Linked DNA regions of Homo sapiens: region 2 is linked to region 1. Evidence: promoter capture Hi-C in human tissues and cell types (Jung and others, 2019). All regions are on one chromosome and are shown on one strand. The core of a region is centred on a gene start or on the middle of the fragment in contact, and the rest is flanking DNA. Distances in the headings are between cores, read along the strand shown. Region 1 holds the start of GPR3 (G protein-coupled receptor 3). Region 2 holds the start of SYTL1 (synaptotagmin like 1).

Region 1 (5,235 bases), core at 1,643-4,142:
CAATGTGGCGAAACCCTGTCTCTACAAAAATTACACGCCTTAGCCAGGCGTGGTGACACGTGCTTGTAATCCCAGTTACTGTGGAGGCTGAGATGGGAGGATTGCTTGAGTCCAAGAGGTTGAGGCTACAGTGAGCATTGATTGCACCACTACACTCCAGCCTGGGTGACAGACTGAGATCCTGTCTCAAAAAACAAACAAACGAAAAAAAAAGACAGAACCCATTTTGGTGGTGTTAAGACAACTGGCTTGGTTATGATTTATGATTCCTTGGATTATGCAAAGAAAAATTAATCCAAACACAGACTTGCAAGACATAAAAGAAAAAGACCTCAAGAAAACAGCTAAAGGAACTCAAGAACAGAATGACGACAGCCAGGGAGTCACAAGAGTGTGGTGCTGGTGCTGGCAAACAGGAATGGCTTTATCTGCAGCAATGGTGAAGATTTTTCACCAGAGGATCAATAAGCTACGAAAACTTAAAAAATATATAATTGCCATTCAGAGTAGTAGAAGATAGTCCCTGATACCCCCCTTTGATGCCAACCTCCCAGCAGCCTTCACCCATCGCAGAGACCAGAACTCTGTAGGGACCCAGCTCTGATGGGGGAGTAAATGGATCCCTGACCCTGAGTCTTGGGGCCCTGATGCCCTTGGATCCTCTCTCTGACACCCCCACCTTCCTGGGCACCAGGCATATTACTATTCTCTCTGTTTTCCTTTTTTCCTCTGGTTGTTCCCTTTTAGGTCAATCATCCAGTCCATGATTATTTCTTCAATACCCATTACATATCAGGCACTGTTCTCTAGCAGAAATGGGACATAGTCAGTATCCTCTTGGAGCTTAGATTCTAGTGGGGCTGACATGTAGTAAAACAAACAAACATGAATTCATTTATAATTTCAAGAGTGCTTCATCCTCCAAAAATGAATAAATCAAGAGAAGGGGAGGGAGAGTGATGGGGAGGCCAGTGGCGATCTGAGAGTTCAGAGCAGCCTGTTTCAGAAGTAATTCGGGAGCAGAGACCTGGATGAAGAGAAGGGTTGTTGTCAGAGGGGTCAGGTGCAAGAGCCCAGGAGGAGGAGCCCCTGAAGCCACTCCTCACTCTCTGCTCCCGCCCCTGGGTGACATTATTTACCCCTAAAACATCAGTTGCCACCTGCATGCCTACACCTCCCAGGTGTCCCTCATTATCCAGCTGTAACATTGATGGCCAATGGCAAGTAGAACCCACTCAACAACCCCATGAGGCCGGTACTAATATTATCCCTGTGTTTTAGATGAGGAAATAGGCACAGAGAGCTGAAGAAACTCTCCAAAGTCACCCAGCTAGGAAATGGAGAAACTGAGATTGGACACTTCCACCCCCTAAGCCCCCTAAACTCACCACATCCAACCTGAAATGAATCCTCTTCTCCAGCTCCGACCCCCTCCTCCTCCCATGTTCCCTGCCACTTGACCTTCTGCTGCCTCACACTCAAACCCAAAACCTGCCTGGTGGAGGCTGACCATGGGGGCTGCAGTGATGGTGCTGTGATGGGGGTGTCCAGTGGGGCCTGGGATCCTCAGGCCTCTTAACCTCATCTTCCCCTCCCACAGGCCTGCATGATTCCAGGGAGCATCAAGGCAAGAGACACAGGGAGAAGGAGCAGCCAGTCCCCCTGCCGCAGGACTGGCCACATCTGTCACATCTGGAGAAGTCTGCCCAGAGTGGTTCCCCTGGACTAAGGGCAGATGGCGTTGGGGAAGAGGGAGCTCTTTCTCCTTGCTCCACCCATCAGGATGCCTAAAATAGGAGGCTGAGAGGGGCCTGCCCTGAGGACTGAGCTGCCAGGCTTTCTGCTTCCAAGTTCTTCCCGGCTCCCCATCTCCTCCTGCTTCAGGGAAGTGCACCCCTCACCCCCTCCACGCTGGCTTTCTAGATACTGGAATAAATAATTCAGGTTTTGAAATCTTGCCAGGCCCACCCCTCCGGTGCTGTGAGGGCGCTATTGGGCTGACATGAGTGACGTCACCCAGCTCTTATCCCAGCCCCGGCATCACGGGACTTGCCCTGGCAGCAACTTACCTGCCTGGTCACTGTCAGTCCAGACCCTCTACCCTGTGCCCCTCACCCTGGAGCCCACTCACCACAGCCACCTGCTATCTTCGTTCCAGGGCCCCACAGTCCTCATGGCTTAGCATTGTCGCTTCAGTACCCCAGCCATTCTGACAGGGTAATGGTGACCTGAAGTCACCTGGACACTCCATGTTCCCAGGCCGCTGCCTCTGCCATCCCGGGGTCCCTGAACTCCCCCCTGCTGCATAGTCACCCTGACACTGCCATGGTTGCCCTGAGGGCTTCCCCTCTACCGTTAGCGTCCCACGGCCATCACCCCCCACCCCAAGATTCTGTCACCATGCTAATGTCGTCACTGCCACCCACCTCCCCGCTCCCTCGTGCTCCCTGTCATCGTCACCTCAGGGCCCCATCATCTTGGAAACCCTGTCATTCTCACCAGGGAAGCCCAACCAGCCCCATCACAAGCTCTTCCTTCGTCACCTGGATCTCGTCAGCCTCTCTGCCACCCAAGGGTCCCATCACCCCACAGCCTAGCCGGGCCCCCTTTCCACTCTTCCACCACGTTCCCTGCAGCCTCTCTGAGACTTCAAGGCTCTCGCACCGGCGCCTCTGAAACCCCCGGCCCGCAGAGGGCGCCGCGTCAAGGACAGCGCGGGCGGACTCGGGAGGGGGCGGGGCCGCAGCCACGGTCGCTTTTTATGAATGGGGGAGCGGGCGGTGCGAGGCCTTATTACTATGCCGCGCAACGCGCGCTGCGCCCCAGCGCGCCGCGCCCATTGGCTGATCGGACCGCTGACGTCACCGAACCGGTGGCCGGGGGCGGGGCGGGGTGACTCACGCCGCTTCTCCCGCGGCCGCGGGGGCTTCTCGGGGTCCACGCACGCCCTGCGCCGCCAGGACCCGAGCGGAGCCTCCCCGCGGCCCGGCCGCGCCTGGTCCTGAGCGGTGAGTAGCGGGCCCCGCCGCGGGCACCAGGGGTCCTGAAGGGCACGCAGGATGCTGGGGCACTGGGCCGGCGGAAGGCTCCTAGTGGCCGGCCGGGGTTCGAGTTCGAGGTGGGAATTCTGGGTTTAGGCGATTCTGGGTTAGCAGGCTTGGGCCCAAGTGCTCGAGTGCTGGGGTTGAGTTGGATGACCCGGCGAAGGGTAAGCATTCCTGCAGGGACCCGAGGCCCTGGAGGGACTGATGGTCATCTGAGGTTAAGCCGGCAGGAGGCGTCTGGGGCAGGGACCCAGGGGTCCGAACAGCAGGAGGTGTCCAATTTAGGAATCCAGGTATCCAGGCAGGAGGCAGAGTCAGGCCCAAAATCCAGGTGTCCGGGCAGAAGGAGGCATCTGACTCAGGGATCCAGTCTTCCAGCAGGGGGGTCTGCCCAGAGACCTAGAGATTCAGGCGGAAAGAAGGGTCCAGCCAGGAACAGAAGTCTGGGAGGGTGGGGGGTGGGGGGCTGAGTTCCCAGGTGTTACCGCGGGAGTGCGGGGTGATGGCTGGCGGGAGCTTCACGCGCATTCCCTGGGGGCGGAGTCTAAGGCTGGCAGTACTGAAAATCGTGAGGGGTCTGGGAGCCTCAGGCACGAGCTAGCATCATCATCTCTGATGGGAGGGAGCGGAGCTGCTCAGTCTCCCTGATGGGGTAGATGTTTCCCTACCCCAATCTTGAGCCTTCGGGGGCATCCCCTGGATCCTATGGCCCTCTTCCACTTATAGTACCCCTTCTTCTGTCTCTCCTCTGGTCACACACGTGGGAAAAAGAGACCTGCAGGACCTAGGACAGGGATCCCCAGGAAGAGACCCCTGTTTAGAGGCCTGGGGGCATTGGAGGGGACAGCGGTATCCTGGGAAGAGCCCCAGGGCATGAATGTGGGGATAAGGCATTGGGACCCTATCAGGTATCCTGAGGAGAGACTCCCACCACGTATCCTGAGAAGCACCTCACCCCCTCCAGACCCCAACTCCCATCACCCAGCTTGGTCAGCTTCTCACAAGGCCTTTCTCCTGCAGGTACCATGATGTGGGGTGCAGGCAGCCCTCTGGCCTGGCTCTCAGCTGGCTCAGGCAACGTGAATGTAAGCAGCGTGGGCCCAGCAGAGGGGCCCACAGGTCCAGCCGCACCACTGCCCTCGCCTAAGGCCTGGGATGTGGTGCTCTGCATCTCAGGCACCCTGGTGTCCTGCGAGAATGCGCTAGTGGTGGCCATCATCGTGGGCACTCCTGCCTTCCGTGCCCCCATGTTCCTGCTGGTGGGCAGCCTGGCCGTGGCAGACCTGCTGGCAGGCCTGGGCCTGGTCCTGCACTTTGCTGCTGTCTTCTGCATCGGCTCAGCGGAGATGAGCCTGGTGCTGGTTGGCGTGCTGGCAATGGCCTTTACCGCCAGCATCGGCAGTCTACTGGCCATCACTGTCGACCGCTACCTTTCTCTGTACAATGCCCTCACCTACTATTCAGAGACAACAGTGACACGGACCTATGTGATGCTGGCCTTAGTGTGGGGAGGTGCCCTGGGCCTGGGGCTGCTGCCTGTGCTGGCCTGGAACTGCCTGGATGGCCTGACCACATGTGGCGTGGTTTATCCACTCTCCAAGAACCATCTGGTAGTTCTGGCCATTGCCTTCTTCATGGTGTTTGGCATCATGCTGCAGCTCTACGCCCAAATCTGCCGCATCGTCTGCCGCCATGCCCAGCAGATTGCCCTTCAGCGGCACCTGCTGCCTGCCTCCCACTATGTGGCCACCCGCAAGGGCATTGCCACACTGGCCGTGGTGCTTGGAGCCTTTGCCGCCTGCTGGTTGCCCTTCACTGTCTACTGCCTGCTGGGTGATGCCCACTCTCCACCTCTCTACACCTATCTTACCTTGCTCCCTGCCACCTACAACTCCATGATCAACCCTATCATCTACGCCTTCCGCAACCAGGATGTGCAGAAAGTGCTGTGGGCTGTCTGCTGCTGCTGTTCCTCTTCCAAGATCCCCTTCCGATCCCGCTCCCCCAGTGATGTCTAGCTGAGTCTTCATGACCCTTCAACCCTGATTACTACAGAATTCCAGAATGTTAGGCTCTCCAGGGCTTCTTTCCAAACCCCCAGCTCCACACCCCCCAGACCCAGCTGGTTCTGGAGTTCTAGGACATTGGGTGTTTCAAGGTTCTGTTCAGATCCCTATGGGGGCCCAGCTGG
Region 2 (5,431 bases), core at 2,932-5,431, 51 kb before region 1:
AGATAGAAAAAAGGCTTAAGGCCTGCGTTAGCCTAGCAGAATTTAAAATTTGCCTGGGGGAAACAGGACATAAAATTGTGCCATAGAAGTCACCAACAGGGTCAGCCACAGTGTCCAGCACTTTGGGAGGCCAAGGCTGGAGGAGGGAGGGAGCCCAAGAGTTTGAGACCAGCCTCGGCAACAAAGTGAGACCCCATCTCTACAAAAAATTAAAAAATAAAATTAGCTGGGCATGATGGTGCGTACCTGCAGCCCCAGCTACTACTCAAGAGACTGAAATGGGAGGATAGCTTGAGCTCAGGAGGTCAAGGGTGACAGAGCAAGACCCCGTCTCTCCCTCTCTCTCTCTCTTTTTTTTTGTTTTGTTTTTTTTTTTTTTTTTGAGATGGAGTCTTGCTCTTGTCACCCAGGCTGGAATGCAATGGCATGATCTCAGCTCACTGCAACCTCCGCCTCCCGGATTCAAGCGATTCTCCTGCCTCAGCCTCCCGAGTAGCTGGGATTACAGGCGCCTGCCACCATGCCCGGCTAATTTTTGTATTTTCAGTAGAGACAAGGTTTCGTCATGTTGGCCAGGCTGGTCTCAAACTCCTGACCTCATGATCCGCCTGCCTCGGCCTCCCAAAGTGCTGGGATTGCAGGTGTGAGTCACCATGCCCGGCCTAAGGCCCCGTCTCTTAAAAAAAAAAAAAAAAAGTCACCAACAGTTAGCGAGTGCTTACTCTGTGCTAGGCCTTGTAATAAAATACCATCTTAGCCTCACAACAGCCCTGCAACAAGGTAAGTGCCATCATCCCATTTTACAGATGAAGAAGTAAGCAGAGAAGTAGTGATTTGCTCCGGGTCACAGAGGTAGGAAGAGTGGAACTATGGTTCAAACCCAGCAGCTGGGCTCCAGAGCCCCCACTCAGAGCCACCCTGTGCGATGGCCTCACTGGAGCACAGGAGTGGAAATGAGAGGTGCTGTGATGCGAAAGGAGAATGGCCGCGGAGGTGAAAAACAAGCTCTCCTGACAGCAGCAGGCCTGTGAGATGGCTATTGTCCCCACTTCATAAAGGAAGAGAGTGAGGCTTACAGGGATTGTCATTGATCCCAGGCCACAGGGAACCATGCGGCAGAGCCAGATTTTAACCCAGATCTGCTGGCCTCTAGGACCCTGCCTCTTAATGTCCCTCTTAACAGAGGGATGTTGCCTAGAGACTGGCTGCAGCGCAGGGGCACTGAACTCTGGAGGAGGCTGAGCTAGTCCTGGAGCTGGGGAAAAGTATTCCCACAGGGAGCACAGAAGGCCCAGGGGTGTTGAAGGACAGGAAATAGCCCACAGCTAAGGCTCTACGGGTATAGGTGACGAAGGGGAGAAAGCCAGAGTAAGGGCAGCAATCCTGAGGGTCAGGCTGAGGGCCAGGCTGTCCTGGGAAGTGGTGAGACTTCCATCTCAGGACGTGTCTAAAGGGGACTGGACTGGTTTAGAAATGTATGAATGGGCCCGAGGGATGGCCTGGCTGTCTGCTGGCACCTTCCAAACCAGAGGATGACAAAGAAAAGTACGTTTGAAAGTTGTGCAACATAGGGCCAGAGTGGCCTTGTGTGGCCGCAAGGAGGCAGGAGAAGAGGAGGCTTCCAGAAGAGGCTGAGCGGGGACTGAGACCTGGGCAGGGGGAGGACAGCAGAGACACACAGATGGGAGGGCACCTGGAGTGAAGTGTGGACAGCATCTGGAGGTGGCAGGAAGCAGCAGGAGGCCAGGGGCCAGGATGATGGGGGCTGGTTACAGAGGTGGAAACTTGGAAATAGGTTTCAAGTGGGGAAGAGGCCAGAGGAATGCAGGTTGAGACACAGCAGGAGAGATGGCTGGAAGTATCAGCGTCAGGGAGTCACAGCTATAGGAAGGACAGGAGAGCAGAGAAAGGAAGGGAAATTTAGAAACCCGAAGACCAGATAATGAAGTTTCATGCCTTCCAGGAGGAAGAGCTGCTAAGGAGGTGAGAGGAGGGCAGAGAAACATCCTTGGGGGCGCCAGGACCAGGATGGCAGGAAGGGGTGTGGATGTTCTTGGCCACTCTCCTTCCATTTTGAGGGCCTTAATGAAGGAGGCAGCATCACAGTAATGGTCCCACAGCAGCTGCTCCATGGGTATTGCATGTGTGGGTGCATAAATGCATTAATCAAGAGTACTGGGGTCTGGGCAAGGTGGCTCACGCCTGTAGTCCTAGCACTTTGGGAGGCTGAGGCAGGCAGATCACATGAGACCAGGAGTTCGAGCCCAGCCTGTCCAACATGGTGAAACCCCATCTCTACTCAAAATACAAAAATTAGCCAGGCGTGGTGGCGGGCGCCTGTAGTGCCAGCTACTCGGGAGGCTGAGGCATGAGAATCACTTGAACCCAGGAGGCGGAGGCTGCAGTGAGCCAAGCCAGCCTGGGCGACAGAGCAAGACTCCATCTAAAAAAAAGAAAAAAAAAAGTCTGCAAGGATCTCACTGAATTTTAGTGAAAACCCTCTAAGGAGAGATTACCCCCATTTAACAGATGAGAAAAATAAGATTAATTTGCAAAAAATAAGTAGGGAAGCCTCCACTGTGGTTCTGAGGTGGAGGAGGGTCCTCTGTCTCTCAGTGGTGGTGGGAGTCGGTTCTGATTACAGGAAGGAAGAGTGGGTGTTTAGTTTTCTTTTCTTTTCTTTTCTTTTTTTTTTTGTGACGGAGTCTCGCTCTGTCGCCCAGGCTGGAGTGCAGTGGTGCGATCTCGGCTCACTGCAAGCTCCACCTCCCAGGTTCATGCCATTCTCCTGCCTCAGCTACTCGGGAAATAGCTGGGACTACAGGCAGCCGCCACCACGCCCAGCTAATTTTTTTTGTATTTTTAGTAGAGATGGGTTTTCACCGTGTTAGCCAGGATGGTCTTGATCTCCTGACCTCGTGATCCACCCGTCTCGGCCTCCCAAAGTGCTGGGATTACAGGTGTAAGCTACCACGCCCAGCCTTGTTTGCTTTTCTGAGACGGAGTCTCGCTGTGTTGCCCAGGCTGGAGTGCAGTGGTGCGATCTCGGCTCACTGCAACCTCCGCCTCCTGGGTTCAAGCGATTCTCCTGCCTCGGCCTCCCGAGTAACTGGGACTGCAAGCACCTGCCACCATGCCCGGTTAATTTTTGTATTTTGAGTAGAGACGGGGTTTCACTATATTAGCCAGACTGGTCTCAAACTCCTGTCCTAGAGTGATCCGCCCACCTCGACCTCTTAAAGTACTGGGATTACAGGCATGAGTCACTGTGCCCAGACTGGTTTTGTTTAGAATCCACCCCTTGTCCTGCCTCTCCCAGGGGTCTATGAGGAGCCCACTAATCTTTAATCCATGGCCCTAGGTTCAGGGGAGGGGGTTGGGCCAGGGCAGGCCATGGGAAGTGAAGTGGACTTGGGGGGAGTCAGAAAGCTTTGGTGTGGCCTCTTGTGCCCAAGACAACCCAGGAGGTTCATGGTCCTGAAGCCAATGTAATCTAGGGCCCAAACCTTCTAATCTCAGGGTGGGCAGAATCTAGGTGTAGAATGGGGTGAGTTCAGGGGGGCTCCACATAGACAGAGGGTGTGGGACCCTCACCTTGGCACTAGAAGAGTTCAGGCCTCCTCAAACAGATGGGGCTCAGGACAGCAGAGGGGACAGAGAGGGCTGCTCTGCCAGCATGTCCCAGAAGTGCATGTGGATATAGAGGGCAGCAGCTGCTGAGATGGCCGTGGGCATTAGGCTATGCTGGAGTGGGGACACCTCACCCCGACTATGCCAGCTCGCACCGGGCACTTTCACTTCCCTTAGTATAGGCTCCTTGCACTCTGCTACCCACAGTTTGCATCAGAAGAAATGGAAGAGACCTGCTTAAGGTCACATCACACACCCACTGGCAGAGCAGGGACTCTGCACAGGGTGGTCTAACTGCAAAGTCTGCCATCCTGCCATTCCCCTTGGGGCTGGAAAAGAAAGGTTTCTAACTTGCTTTCAAAGCGAGTTCCTATCAGCCCCGTTGTGGGCAAGGTGGGGCTGCTACCCGTTCTAGAGGGCCTGCTCAGTGGAGCTGGGGCCAAGCTGGGCCTCTCCAGTCGGCTGCGGGGGCGCACCCCCGGGCGCTGGGAGTCCAGGCCCGGTTTTGCATCAGGCCCTGCCGAGGTGTTTCCTCCTCCTCCGTGTGGGGCAGCTGCTGGCTGGGCTGCCTGTTGAGTCAGCCTTCTTCCCTCACGGCTCTTCTCCCGGTCCCTGAAACTCGGCTGCCAGGGGAGCTGGAGCCACCTGCGAAGGTGTCCTCCCATACTGGACCCCTACAGGTAACACGTGTCGGTGCCAGGGTCCCCTGCCAGGGTCCAGAGACGCAGGCACTGCCACCTGGTATCCTGAGCACCCTCCAGCACCTTGGGGTTGGGGGAGGTGGGCACATGTCTGGAACTGGAACAGCTGGACAGATGGACAGACCCTCCTCTTGACCAATGGGTCTGTCCCACCGTGTCAAAACAGCAGAGAAGACCAAACTCCTACCTAACTCTGGTAGGAGATTCTGCCTCTGGTTGGTAGGAGAGGGGACTTCAGGGAGGGGGCACTGCTGAGGACGCTGGGCTGATGCCCATGGCCCAGCTCAGGCAGGCCTGAAGGACAGAAATAGGCTCAGTTCTGCCGAACGTCCCCCCGGCCTCCATCCACACTCAGACACACACACCTGGTGGCCCCCAAGGCACCAGGGGACACCCCACAGCACACAGCCCAGTCACACATACAGCACAGGAGGAAATGCACAATGCATACTGTACACACCCCACACGGCGCTGTCACCTAGAAAGTCACTGAACACACCACACAGACAATATAGTCACCATGCAGCATCACACTGCAACAGGACACAAAGACACACAGCAACTACACAGCTCACAGACTCACGCAACGCAGACATGCCCACCAGACTCGGACCCACACAGCCACACAACAGGGCACAGAGAGGGACGTGGGCTCACACCCCAATCCACAGGGGAGGCCGAACGTGGGCTCACACCCCAATCCACAGGGGAGGCCGAACGTGGGCTCACACGTTGGCCACAGAAGTCCAGGGAAACTGCTGTTGTGGAGCACACAGGTATCCACAGAGTGAATGCACACCGTGCAGCCGTGCTGAGGCCTTCTGCTCCTGAGGGTGTCAAGAGGGATCGCTGGGGCTCGGCCACTGACTCAGCTGGGAGGGGACAGAGCATAGCAGGCGGCGGACACAAGCCAGGACCTGCCCGCCAAGCTGCCTCCGCCGGTCTCAGCCCCACCTGGAGCCGTGGCAATGGAAGGGGCGGGGAAGAGAGGAGAGGCCGCCCAGTGGGCTCAGGACACAGCCCTGACCAAGTCATGGGCCCCTTGCCACGTCTACATGCCCCTCAGCGCTGGGCAAATGCTTTCTTTCCGGAGTCACTGT

The links. The method cuts DNA at HindIII sites, captures the fragments that hold promoters and counts their contacts. A contact is called where the count stands out against the background at its distance.
Region 2: the fragment with the promoter of SYTL1 here is called in contact with the fragment with the promoter of GPR3 in region 1 in 6 of the 25 tissues and cell types used here (IMR-90 fibroblasts, adrenal gland, aorta and 3 more).

Annotation. Positions count from the first base shown.
Region 1 is chr1:27,389,730-27,394,964 of GRCh38, forward strand. GPR3 (G protein-coupled receptor 3) reads left to right here and starts at 2,893. Exons shown (of 2, transcript NM_005281.4): 1 at 2,893-3,008; 2 at 4,065-5,235. The coding sequence starts at 4,070. The coding sequence ends at 5,062. RefSeq lists enhancers at 1,509-2,045, 2,046-2,582, 3,120-3,655, 4,484-5,235 and a silencer at 2,597-3,096. The HindIII fragment of the contact is 10,052 bases long and covers 1-5,235 here.
Region 2 is chr1:27,337,841-27,343,271 of GRCh38, forward strand. It overlaps SYTL1 (synaptotagmin like 1), which reads left to right and starts at 4,182. Exons shown (of 15, transcript NM_001193308.2): 1 at 4,182-4,310. RefSeq lists enhancers at 3,803-4,062, 4,593-4,642, 4,817-5,431. The HindIII fragment of the contact is 14,194 bases long and covers 1,105-5,431 here.